Linked DNA regions of Homo sapiens: region 2 is linked to region 1. The links are contacts of gene promoters, found by promoter capture Hi-C in blood cells and fetal thymus (Javierre and others, 2016). All regions are on one chromosome and are shown on one strand. The core of a region is centred on a gene start or on the middle of the fragment in contact, and the rest is flanking DNA. Distances in the headings are between cores, read along the strand shown. Region 1 holds the start of ATMIN (ATM interactor). Region 2 has its middle 51 kb from the start of PLCG2.

Region 1 (6,560 bases), core at 2,530-5,029:
GCTTTCATTTCTCCATGAATCCCACCATACACAAGGCTGGGCTAGATTTCTGGATTTCCTTACAGGATATGGAATATGGCCATATACCTTAGGCACCCACATCAAACCAGAAGGCGGCACATACTCTACAGTTTGCAATCCAATTCCTCATTCTCACCCATCCTCGTTGCTCATCATTTATGTTAAGAAGGGAAGATTTGGTTGGGGGTGGGGTGTTTTGGGAAGAAAGATTAGAATAAAATAAGAACCAACAGCAACTAGTGGGGAGGGGAAGAAAATATAATCTAGAAAATATATAAACAATGAAAGAAATTATGCAAGCAGCTGTAACTAAGACCGAAAATTTCCACTGACTATAAGAAAACCTGCCAATAAGATACTCAGGGCAGAAAGTGGATGGAGTCTCTGGTCAACACAGCTCTTAAAACCTAAGATAGCTTCCCAGCCAGCCTTCCTCCCGGTTCCTTGTCCTTACCCCTACCTTCTTCCAGTACTTTGAAAACAGGTATCAACATTGATGTTTGAGGCCTGGCGCAGTGGCTCACTCTTGTAATCCCAGTACTTTGGGAGGCTGAAGCGGGCGGATCACTTGAGGTCAGGAGTTCAAGACCAGCCCGACCAACATGGCGAAACCCTGTTTCTACTAATAAAACAAAAATTAGTCGGGCGTGGTGGAGCATGCCTGTAGTCCCAACTACTCGGGAGGCTGAGGCAAGAGAACTGCTTGAACCCGAGAAGCGGAAGTTGCAGTGAGCCGAGATCATGCCACTGCACTCCAGTCTGGGCGACAGAGTGAGACTGTCTCAAACAAACAAACAAAAAGAACAATGTTTGAGGCAGGGCATGGTGGCAGGAGCCTATAGTCTCAGCTACTGGGGAGGCTAAAGCAGGAGGATCACTTGAGCTCAAGAGCCTGACAGCAACCTGGGTTAACAGAGCAAGACCCTGAAAAGCCTTCTATGTAGTAACCAGACAAGGTACAGATCTCCATACTGGGCACCATCATATAGATGGCTATTGCATCACACAGACAACCTTCATTAAAGGAAGACACCAAGACAGGAGCTGCTCAGGGGCCACTGGGCACTGCGGTTAGAAAGCCAGGACAAGACAGGAAAGTCAGTCTGCTTGTCAAGAAAAAAATGATGGATCTGGTGAGGTATAATTCCTGCTAAAAAAAAGTTTGCCCTGGCTGGGCACAGTGGCTCACACCTGTAATCCCAGCCCTTTAGGAGGCTGAGGCGGGTGGATCACTTGAGGTCAGGAGTTCGAGACCAGCCTGGCCAACATGGTGAAACCCCACCTCTACTAAAAATACAAAAATTAGCTGGGCGTGGTGGTATGCACCTGTAATCCCAGCTACTAGGGAGGCTGAGGCAGGAGACTCGCTTGAACCTGGGAGGCAGAGGTTGCAGTGATCCAAGATGGCGCCACTGCACTCCAGCCTGGGCGACAGAGTGAGACTCTGTCTCAAACAAAACAAAAAAAACCCAACATAATTAGAAACAAACCTACTGTATACTAACCAGTCCTGAAAGGCAAATGGTATCTTTATGTTCAACAGATGTTTACCAGGGTCTTTAAAGAGCTAGAGCTCCTAACAACAACTCCACAGAAAGGAACAACAGAAACTATTAAGAAATAGTTCATCCACCTAAGTTATGATTAAATAAAGGATTTAGGTCGGTCGCGGTGGCTCACACCTGGAATCCCAGCACTTTAAGAGGCTGAGGTGGGTGGATCACCTGAGGGTCAGGAGTTCGAGACCAAGCTGGCCATCATGGTGCAACCTGTCTTTACTAAAAATACAAAAAAAAATTAGCAGGGTGTGGTGGCAGGTGCCTGTAATCCCAGCTACTAGGGAGGCTGAGGCAGGAGAACTGCTTGAACCCCGGAGGCAGAGGTTACAGTGAGCTGAGATGGCGCCACTGCGCTCCAGCCTGGGTGATGGAGTGAGACTCTGTCTCAAAAACAAACAAAAAAACACAAAAACAATAGGGAAGAAAAGGATTTAGTTAAAATTTAGTATGAAAACAAAACAACAGGTTGAAAGCCATTCCCAGAGTTACACTTGAGTGCTGAAAGAAACCCAGAGCTTTTCAGTCCAACAATTCGGCCCCACCTGCACGGTCTTCCTCAGCATACCTCAGGTACATTTCCTGACTGGCTCCCTGATCTTCAATTGAGAACGTTGTTGCATCCCGGTTTAGATGGTGGTAAGAGCAGATCACTCTTCATTGGCGACACATCTGTCCTACTAGAGACTACAACCTCAGAGTTTTCTGCTGTGAAATTCTTATCAGAAGCCTGACTATGGGCAGACAGAACATGCAATATTCTGGGTACTCTAAATTTACTCCTGATCATCAAAAGCTACATATTCGCAGAACTGCTTTCAATGACTTGCGCTTTTGAATTATGTCACTGCTGGCCTAGAGTGGTGGAAGGAAACTTGCCATTGTAATGACTGAGAGATTGTGACTTAACAGGTCCGGGGTGGGGCTGGACATCTGGATTTTTAATAAGCTTGTCACAGATGTGTCCCAAGGTTGAAAATGACTGCCCTGTTTTGCATAACGTGGAGGGTTGTTGAGACTATTGTCATGGTGTATTTACTGTGTCCCCCTCTTAAAGAAGAGCCACAGGGGCAATTTCCCTTAGGTCTCAGTCCTGAGCTGATCTTACCAACACCGTGAAACTGACTGATGGTGTTTAGAGGCAAACCTACCGCTCCTTTAAAACATTTTTTTATTCATAATCGACACACAGTAATTATTCCTACTGATGGGGTGCGGTGTGCAGCATGGATGGACATATACATTGCATAGTGATCAAGTCAGAGTGTTTAACATGTCCTCGACCTCAAACGTATTGTCTCTTGGTGGTGAGAACATTTAAAACCCTCTCTTCTAGTTATTGTGGCACATACAGTCCACTGGGCAGGACCCAAGGGCGGCATTGTGGGTGTCGTGGCAAGCACAGGGCTTTAGAACCAGAGGCCCCGGTTTAAAGCCCCGCATCATCTAGGTTGCATAATCTGTTTCTCATTAATATAATGGAGACGATGCGTCCCTCGCCAAAACGCCGTTAAGAACTCACAGGCAAAAAAGTGTAAAAAGCCTGGGCCGGCGTCCGGCACGACACTCGGGGCCAGGGAGCCAGGGAACCAGGGAACTGGCGCGTACGGCGGACCCGGGGCTCCCAGCTCCTCCTCCCCCCCAGAGGCCGCACCTGCGGCGCCTGCCGCGAGGGTTCGAGAGCCGCCTCCGGCCGGGGAGGGCAGAGGCCGGTGGGGCAGCGGCAGCGGCAGCGCGCAGGGCGCTCGTCCCCCCGAGGCCGGCTTCGCGCGCCGGCGCCGGGCGCTTTGTTGGAGCCAGGCCCGGCCCCCCGGGCCGCCGGCCGCGTCGGGCTCACCTGCAGGCGGTGGCTCTTGACTAGGTGCATGTTGAGCGCGGGGCTGTTGGGCAGGATCTTGCCGCAGCCGCGCACGGTGCACAGGATGTTGGTCCGCACGGCCCGGGACAGCTCGCTCACCGACGGCTGGATCAGCTCCCCCGCCGGCGGCGCGGGGACAGCGGGCTGCTGCGTCGCCCCCGCGGGCCGCGGCCGGCTGCCCCTCAGTCGGGGTCCCGGGGGCACCCACGGGCCCGAGGCGGCGGCGGCGGCTCCTGTCGTGGCCGCCGGGACGGCCCGGGCACCCGCCGCCAGAGCCGCGGACCCCGCCGCCGCCGCCGCCTCCGAGGCCGCCATGGCTCCCGCACGGCCGCCCGGCCCAGTTCGTAGGCCCCGCCCCCGCCGCAGCCACTTCCGGCAGGGGGCGAGGCCGCCAGGCTTGTTAGCATCCGGCGGGCCCAGGCGGCCGCGGCGCCCCCTGCCGGCCGCGGAGGGCGCGCCTTGGAGGGAGAGGACTTTAGGTGACGCCGCCAGGAGGCGAAATTTCACCTGCCAGCAGGTAAAAGGTATTGCCCCGCCTCTCTAATCGATCCATTCTTCCTAGGAAAGTGACTTCAGGCAGTAGTCACATAAAAGAAAAAGCAATACGTTGAGCAATGCGTTTACTTCCCAAAGATTAGAAACAACCCAAATGTCTAGTGGCAGGTGAGGCAGAAGTACACTGATTTCCGCCGTTGTTTATTACCTAGGCCTTACTGGGTACCAGGTGGGTCTGGTGGATGCACTTTTCATGCTGTGTCTCATTTTGTCTTCAAAACGACTGTAGCGGGTATGTACTGTAACTTGCCCCACCTTGTGCAGAGAAGGACATTTAGGCTTATATAAATTAAGTAACTTGACCTAGACCACACTATACAAATGAAAAGATTGTTATTATTGATAGGATTAATCATTTTAAGAAGGCTGGATTTGCTTGCTTCTATTTTAGCTGCTGAAATTAGGATTACTGTTTGGGAGACACTGCAGTTCAGTATACGATTACAAAACTTAATACTTAGACTGGGTAGTTCATGTAAATGGACATAGGAGGCTGGGGTAGACAAAAGGGAGGGGTGAGGACTGCAGTGAAATTGGAAACACATCCTTTATTAAAAGGGGGCAGCTGCTACTCATCTTTGGTATGGCTAGAGTTTTATGTGAAAATTTCCACCTTTTACATACTAGCAGCTATATTCGTTTTCTCTTGCTATTAATAAATTACCACAAACTTACTGCCTTAACACAAATTTATTATCTTCCAGCTCTGGAGGTCAAAAGAAATGAGACTGCTGGGCTAAGATCAAGGTGTCAGCAGGGCTGTATTCCTTCCCAAGGCTCCAGGGGAGAATCTGTTCACTTGCCTTTCCCAGCTTCTAGAGGTTGCCTACATTCCTTGGCTTGCGGACCCTTCCTCCATCTCCAGAATCAGTAACGGTGAGTTGAGTCTTCGTCACATCACATCACTCTGATTTCTTCAGTAGTGATCCCTCTGATTCTTCTATTCTTGAGGCCCCCTGTGATGACATTGGGCCCATTCAAATCATCCAGGATAATTTCTCCAACTGCCAAGTCCCTTTGCCTTGCAAGATAACTGTGATAATGTGAAGTATATATTTGGTCTTTGTCCTGGCATGCAATTCCTAAAATCCTTGGAATCAGCAAATTGGTGTTTTTTTGTATGCTAATTAGTTGACTGATGACTCACAGTCCCTAGGTAGCTTTAGGATGGGACTGGTCACTGGAAAGACCAAGGTAGGATTAGAGGCTTGAGACTTTCAGCCCTCCCCCTCAACCTCTGGGGAGGAGACAGGGGCTGAAGCTTAAGCTGATCAATCATTCCTAGGTAATGAAGCCTCCATAAAATCCCAAAAGAAATGGGTTTGGAGAACTTCCAGATAGCTGAATGCATGGAGTTTCCTGGAGGGAGGCGCACTCAAAGAGGGCATGCGTGGAAGCTCTTGCCCTATGCATCTTTTCATCTGAATCCTTTGTAACATCCCTTGTAAGAAGTCAGTCTATGTGTCTTCCTGAGTTCTGTGAGCTGCCCTAGCAAATTAATTGAACATGAAGAGAGGGTTGTGGGAAATGCAATTTATAGCTGGTTAGTCAGAAGCGCAGGTGAAACAACCTGGGGCTGGCAACTGGCCTCAGAAGTGGGTGGCAGTTTTGTGGGACTGAGCCCTTAACCTATGGGGTCTGATGATATCGCCAGGTAGTTAGTGTTGGAATTGAACTGGAGCATACCCAGCTGGTATCTGCTGTAGAACTGATTGCTTATGTCAACCAAGAAGAGGTGAAAGGGCCAGGCATGGTGGCTCACGCCTGTAATCCCAGCACTTTGGGTGGCCGAGGCAGGGCGGATCACGAGGTCAAGAGATCGAGACCATCCTGGCCAACATGGTGAAACTCTGTCTCTACTAAAAATACAAAAATTAGCCGGGTGTGGTGCGCACGCCTGTAATCCCAGCTACTCAGGAGGCTGAGGCAGGAGAATCGCTTGAACCCAGGAGACGGAGGTTGTGGTGAGCCAAGATCGCACCACTGTACTCCAGCCTGGTGACAGAGCAAGACTGTCTCAAAAAAAAAAAAAAAAAAAAGAAGAGGTGAAAGACCACACTGCAAAGCAGTAAGACAAGGCATTTTTTTTTAATTAAAAAAAAAAAAAAGAAAAGAGACAGGGTCTCGCCATTTTGGCCAGCTTGGGGTCAAGTGATCCACCTGCCTCGGCCTCCGAAAGTGCTGGGATTATAGATGCAAGTTACCACGTCCAGCCAAACAAGGCATTTTGATTGGGGTCTTAGAAATTACAATTTGGGAGACACAGATTCACCTAGAAGCCAAATGGGGTTCTGAAAAGAGGGAGAGAAGTAGATGTTTTTAAAAGAAAGCAGAGGGTTAATACACAAATTGTTTTGAAAGAATTATCATTGGTGGAGGTGGCTGGCTTAGTACATGAATCCATAGTTGATTGGTTGCCGCTGTTCAGGAGTTGTAGCACTGGTGAAATTCAGTTTTCCAGGATGTAGTGGTTATTGCAGTTTTGGCCCAGTTCAAAGCTTCAAGGCAAGTTCATATTTTTTGTTTTTGTGTTTTGCAAGTTGCAGATTGTGCAGGCAGTCCTTCTTAGA
Region 2 (6,560 bases), core at 1,044-3,543, 690 kb before region 1:
GGCATGGTGGCTCAAGCCTGTAATCCCAGCACTTTGGGAGGCCCAGGTGGTTGGATCACAAGATCAGAAGGTCGAGACCAGCCTGACCAACATGGTGAAACCCTGTCTCTACTAAAAATAGAAAAATTAGCCTGGGCGGGGTGGTGCATGCCTGTAATCCCAGCTACTCAGGAGGCTGAGGCAGGAGAATTGCTTGAACACAGGAGGCACAGGTTGCAGTGAACTGCAGTGCACTGCACTCCAGCCTGGGTGACAGAGTGAAACTCCGTCTCCAAAAAAAAAAAAGAAAGAAAGAAAGAAGTTAATCACTTATGTCTTTAGATGAATACACACTCAGACGTAGACATATAGCTTAGAAGGTACATAATCTCTGGAAAACTTTGTAATTTTGAGTTGGTCTGGGGATAATTTCCAGGCCTTCTCCCTGCACCCGGTTACAGAAATCAACTCCTTCCTTTCCCCGTTCATCTGCATCTCGTTATTGGGCCGCGAGAATAAGCAGCCCCACCCTCAGTTTGGTCCGGAAACACTCCTGTTAAGGGGACGACGACAGGAGCATGCCAGAACACTCTTATGCCAAGACAACTTCCAGATTGGGGACTGAGTCCGCCCCTGAGAGGGCAGTCCCTGGACCCCAAGGTGGGGAAGCCTGGGCCCCCATCTCAGGGGGTTCCCCATCCGCTACCCCAGGAGCCAGCGCAAGGCCGAAGCCACGTCTGGGCGGCAAGGGTCGGGGCGGGCTGGGTGCAGCAGGGAGCCCCGCCCATTCTGGGCATCCTGCCTCTGGCAGGGTTGTGCTCTTAGGTGGAGCCACCGCCTGCAGGACCCAGGTCTGTGCCCTCTGCTTCCCTCAGCCTCACAGAGCCTCCCAGCCCGGGCTCCCGCAGCTGCAACGCTGGGCAGGGAAGCCGGGTCTCCATGACAACGTTGACGTCACCGGCCCGGGGCTGGGAATTGCCTCCCGCCCCCAGCAGCGGCCAGGCCCAGCCCCAGCCCGGATCTGCAGCAGCTGGGACCCCAGGAGCGTTGGCGCCTCCGACCCTGTCCTCTGACCTTCCCGTCCTGGCCACCAGGGGCAGACAGGCGTGAACGGGCCAGCCAGGCTCTCACCTGCCTGCCACCTTCCCGAGATCCCGCTTCTTCCCGCCCTTCCCTTTTGTCCTCAAATTGCTCTCAGCTGGTTGCAAGCTCAACAGACCTCGCTTCCTGTTTCATTAACTGGAAACCCCCTCCCGGGAGAATGTGCATTTTAATAGAATGTGGGGAGCGATGAGCTCGCTGCTCTCTCGATGGCTTCACCTCTGCCTCCCTTTACTCCACAATACAGAACAACTCCCAGGCCGGGCGCAGTGGCTCACGCCTGCAATCCCAGCACTTTGGGAGGCCAAGGCGGGCGCATCATCTATGGTCGGGAGTTCGAGACCAGCCTGACCAACAAGGTGAAACCCCCGTCTCTACTAAAAGTACAAAAATTAGCTGGGCATGGTGGCGCATGCCTGTAATCCCAGCTACACGGGAGGCTGAGGCAGAAGAATCACTAGAACCCGGGAGGCGGAGGTTGCGGTGAGCCGAGATCACGCCATTGCACTCCAGCTTGGGCAACAAGAGCAAAACTCCATCTCAAAAAAAAAAAAAAAAAAAAACAAAAAACCTCCCAGATTATCATATAGCCCCTCCCACATCCCGGGCGTCTACCCTGTAACAGCTTCCCACTGCCCTAGTGCTGAGACTTCAGAGGCCTCGGCTCTCTACAGCGGCCCAGACCCCCGTACCTCCTCCTGTTCCTCCTCCTCCTCCTCCCCACTTCCAGCATCTGTTCCGCCGACGAATTGCCAGGCTCTGCCTCGGGGCCTCCGCACATGCTCTTCCCTCTGCCTGCAAGGCAGTTTCCTCCTCCGCCTCCCCTCGGGCTGGAGACTCCAGCTGCTCTCCAGGCCTAGGCTCGCAGGTGAGCTCAGTGCTGCCCCCTCTTGAAGGCGCTCACAGCAGCCTGCACTTCCTTTCGGCCCTCCTTGCTGTCCCCAGGGTGAGGACAGTTAACAATAACGTGGTGTGTGTTTCCAAACAGCGACAAGAGACGTCTGAATGTTCTCACCACAAAGAAATGATCAAGGTTTGGGGTGATGGATTTGCTGGTTACCCTGATTTGATCATTACACAATGTATACATGTATGGAAACCATAAATATGTACCATTGCCAAGTATTGTGAACCCCAAAGTATCTGAGACAGGGCTCAATCAATTTAGAGAGTTTATTTTGCCAAGTTTAAGGACGTGCCGGTGACACAGCCTCAGGAGATCCTGAATGTGTCGAAGGAGGTCAAGGTACAGCTTGTTTTTATACATTTTAGGGAGGCGTAATACGTCAATATGTGTAAGACTGACATTGGTTCCATCTGGAAGCGTGGGACAACTCAAAGTGTGCAGGGCCTTCCAGGTTGTAGATGGATGTAAATTTTTCTGATTGCCAATTGGTTGAAAAGTTATTATCGGTAGTAAGAAATGTCTGAGTCGTGGCCGGGTGCCGTGGCTCACGCCTGTAATCTCAGCAGTTTGGGAGGCTGAGGTGAGTGGATCACTTGGGGTCAGGAGTTCGAGACCAGCCTGCACAACATGGTAAAACCCCATCTCTACTAAAAATACAAAAATTAGCCAGGTGTGGGGTCACATGCCTGTAACTGCAGCTACTTGGCAGGTTGAGGTGGGTTGAACCTGGGAGGTGGAGGTTACAGTAAGACAAGATCATGCCACTGCAGTCCAGCCTGGGCAACACAGTGAGACCCTGTGAAGAAAGAAAGAGAAAGAAAGGAAGGAAGGAAGGAAAGAAGGAAAGAGAGGGAGGGAAGAAAGGAAGGAAGGAAAGAAAGGAAGAAAAGAAGGAAGGAAGGGAAGGAAGGAAAGAAAGGCAGGGAGGAAGGAAGGAAGGAGAGAGAGAGGAAGGAAGGAAGGAAGGGAGGGAGGGAGGAGGGAGGAAGGGCATGCTGGCTCACGGAAAGGAAGGAAGGAAGAAAGAAAGAAAGACAGCCGGGCGTGGTGGCTCACGCTTGTAATCCCAGCACTTTGGGAGGCCGAGGCAGGCTGATCATGAGGTCAGGAGATCAAGACCATCTTGGCTAACACAGTGAAACCCCGTCTCTACTAAAAATACAAAAAAATTAGCCAGGCATGGTGGCAGGCACCTGTAGTCCCAGCTACTCGGCAGGCTGAGGCAGGAGAATGGCGTGAACCCAGGAGGCGGAGCTTGCAGTGAGCCGAGATGGCGCCACTGCACTCCAGCCTGGGCGACAGAGAGAGACTCTGTCTCAAAAAAAAAAAAAAAGGAAGGAAGGAGAAAGACAGAAAGACAGAAAGAAAGGGAGGGAGGGAGGGATGGAGGAAGGAAGGAAAGAAGGAAGGAAAGAAAGAAAGAAAGAAAGAAAGAAAAGAAAAGAAAAGAAAAGAAAAGAAAAGGTCTGAGTTGCCATATGGGTTGTAGAGACCAAGGTGTTATCATGCAGATGGTGCCTTCACGTAACAGGCTTCAGAGAGAATAGATTGTAAATGTTTCTTATCAGACTTAAGGTCTGTGTTAAAGCTGGAGGGTATAATAAGAAATGTCCAACCCCCTCTTCCATGACGGCCTGAACTAGATTTTCAGGTTCATTCTAGAATGTCCTTGGCCTAGAGGAGGGGTCCATTCAGAAGGTTGCAGGGCCTTACAATTTTATTTTTGGTTTACAGTGTCCATTAAAAACAAAATAGAATGCAAAACAAAAAGGAAAATGATTTGTATGATCATTTGTTTAGCAGCTGCCTCCATCCCCACACTGTATGTGGCCTGAGGGTGAGGATGGCATTAGTTCCATTCACTCCTGAGTCCCCAGTGTGCCCAACACACAGTAAGTGCTCAACACATATTTTTAGATGGCCTTATTGAGGTTTAATTGACACACCGTTCAATTCACCCTTAGAAAGTGTGCACTGCAATGGTATTTAGTGTATTCAGAACTGTGCAGACATCATCATGGTCGATTTTAGAACCTTTTCATTACCCAAAAATGATACCCTGTACCTGTGGGCAGTCACCCTCCTATCCCCCATCCCCCTCAGCCCTAAGCAAGCACTAACCTACTTTCTGTTTCTATAGACACTCTGGATGTTCGTATAAATGGAATCACACATTATGTGGACTTTTGTGACTGGCCTCTTCCACTTAGCACAACTTTTTAAAGGTTCTACTTGATACATTGTGCTCAGTGAATAAATGAATGGGTGACTGGATGAATGAAAGGCTGTGAGAAGCAAAGGCAGGGCCCTCTCCTGATGGGATGATGGGCAGTGGAAACGGGGGCTCTGGATGCACTTTGGGATCCACGTCTAATAAGGATGCAGCTCTGACTGAGTCTACAACTGCCTGCCCCAGGCACATCTCTGATGGTCTGCAGCCCAAGATCAAAATTCCAGTCTCGTTGCCCAACCCCTGAGTTTAGATGTAGGTCAGATGCCCGATCCACCGCCCCTCATTCCATGAGAAGAGCTGCTTTCTGTTCTTCACACTGGCATTTTTCATTCATTCATTCATTTATTCCACGGGTGCACGGTTATGATCTACAAGTCCTTTGTAAATGAATATACTCTTATTTTAAAAAATCAATTGCAAGAGACAGATGCTGGCTCTCAATTGAGACTTTGGGGTAGACCTGGGAATCTTACCTCTGCAAGTCCATTCTGCCAGAACCCATTCCAGGAGGTCATGCCTGAGACCTTTAGTGCTTGGGGTTTGATGGGACAGTGCTCCCCGGTGGCTTGGAAAGCCTCTCCGTAAACATGCATGCTAAGTAGAAAGATTTTACCAACATGTAAATGCTGTCTCAATTCCTGCCCCCTCAGTGCCCCAATTCCTTTTCTTGTGTTTGTTTGTTTTTTGTTTTGTTTTGTTTTTGAGATGAAGTCTTGCTCCGTCGCCTAGGTTGGAGTGCAGTGGCATGATCTTGGCTCACTGCAACCTCTGCCTCCGGGGTTCAAGCAATTCTCCTGCCTCAGCCTCTCAAGTAGCTGGGACTACAGGCACCTGCCACCATGCCCGGCTAAGTTTTCTATTTTTAGTAGAGATGGGGTTTCACTGTGTTGGCCAGCCTGATCTCAAACTCCTGATCTCAAGTGATCCGCCTGCCTCAGCCTCCCAAAGTGTTGGGATTACAGGCATGAGCCACTGCACCCGGTCAGTGCCACACTCCTTATTATGTGGCCACTGCCTTGGCTACTGGTTTATAGAAATTCTAGAACTGCATTGTCTACACAGCAGCCACCAGGTATAGATGGCCGCTACTGAGCACTTGAAATGTAGCTGGTGTGAACTGAGTCGTGCTCTAAATGCAAGACACACACCAGATTTTGAGACTTAGTATGGGGGAAAAATACATAAACTATCTCATTAGTCATTTTTTATATTGACTACACATTGAAATGATAATATTTTGGATATGTGAGGTTAAATAAAATATATTGTCACAGCATTTTGGGAGGCCAAGGCAGGCGGATCACCTGAGGTCAGGAGTTTGAGACCAGCCTGGCCAACATGGTGAAACCCCATCTCTACTAAAAATACAAAAAAATTAGCCAGGTGTGGAGGTGAGCCCCTATAATCCCAGCTACTTGGGAGGCTGAGGCAGGAGAATCGCTTGAACCCAGGAGGCAGAGGTTGCAGTGAGCCGAGAACATACCATTGCATTCCAGCCTGGGTGACAAGAACGAAACTCCGTCTCAATCAAAAAAAAAAAAGGAAGGAAGGAAGGAAGGAAGGAAGAAAGAAAGAAAGAAAGAAAGAAAGAAAGAAAGAAAGAAAGAAAGAAAGAAAGAAAGAAAGGAAAGAAAGAAAGAAAATAAAATGTATTGTCAAAATTAATTTCACCTATTTCTTCTTAATTTTTAAAATGCGGCTACCATAACATTTAAATTTATCTACGTGGCTTGTCTTCTATTTCTTTTGAACAGGGGTGGCCTGGAGCATCCCCTATCTGTGATGGACACGTCTCCAGGGCTGTGAAATGCATTACTGCTATTCACAAAACAGCCCACAAGGGAATCACTGTCCCCCACCTGCCCTGCCCAGCAGTAGCCAGTGGATGGATAGGGAGAGCCCCAGAGAGGAGCTGCTTCTAGGGTAATCCTGGTCCCAGCAAGTAGCTGGGATTGCAGAGCCTCCTTCCCAGTGGATCTGAAAGCCCCTTCTCCTCCCTGGCAAATCAAAGAGGAGGAACATGCCTGGTGTTCTCGGGGCGGGGAAACAGTGCATTGCTCTTACCGGCACAGTTACAGAACAAACAGCCTAGAGAACTGTCGCCGGGTGCGAGAAGGAGTCTCTTCCATCCTGTCCTCATCCTTGTCGTTCTGCAGAGATGACCCAAAACGCTCCAGGGAAAGTTTCATGGCCCCGAAAGGCAGGTTTCAGTACAGTGATGAGTGGATCCTGCACATGGATTTGTTTGCTGACAGGCATCTCCCTGACAAATCAGAGGGAAGCTAGCCCAGGCTTCTTGGACATGCAACCTGCGCAGTCACACAGAACTGAGCTTCGAAG

Evidence for each region. Contacts are between HindIII fragments. The CHiCAGO score rates a contact against its expected background, and 5 or more counts as called.
Region 2: a fragment that was not itself captured here is called in contact with the fragment with the promoter of ATMIN in region 1 in 2 of 17 cell types (fetal thymus and M2 macrophages); the score reaches 10.4 in fetal thymus.

The regions. Positions count from the first base shown.
Region 1 is chr16:81,033,061-81,039,620 of GRCh38, reverse strand. It overlaps ATMIN (ATM interactor), which reads right to left and starts at 3,779. Exons shown (of 4, transcript NM_015251.3): 1 at 3,415-3,779. The coding sequence starts at 3,750. CENPN-AS1 (CENPN antisense RNA 1) reads left to right here. Exons shown (of 4, transcript XR_007065134.1): 1 at 1-2,884; 2 at 4,695-4,866. It also overlaps a transcript of CENPN not described here. RefSeq lists silencers at 3,110-3,459, 3,670-3,959. The HindIII fragment of the contact is 2,725 bases long and covers 2,529-5,253 here.
Region 2 is chr16:81,724,940-81,731,499 of GRCh38, reverse strand. No RefSeq gene overlaps it. Among named protein-coding and RNA genes, the nearest start is that of PLCG2, 51 kb to the left of the region's middle. The HindIII fragment of the contact is 9,174 bases long and covers 1-6,560 here.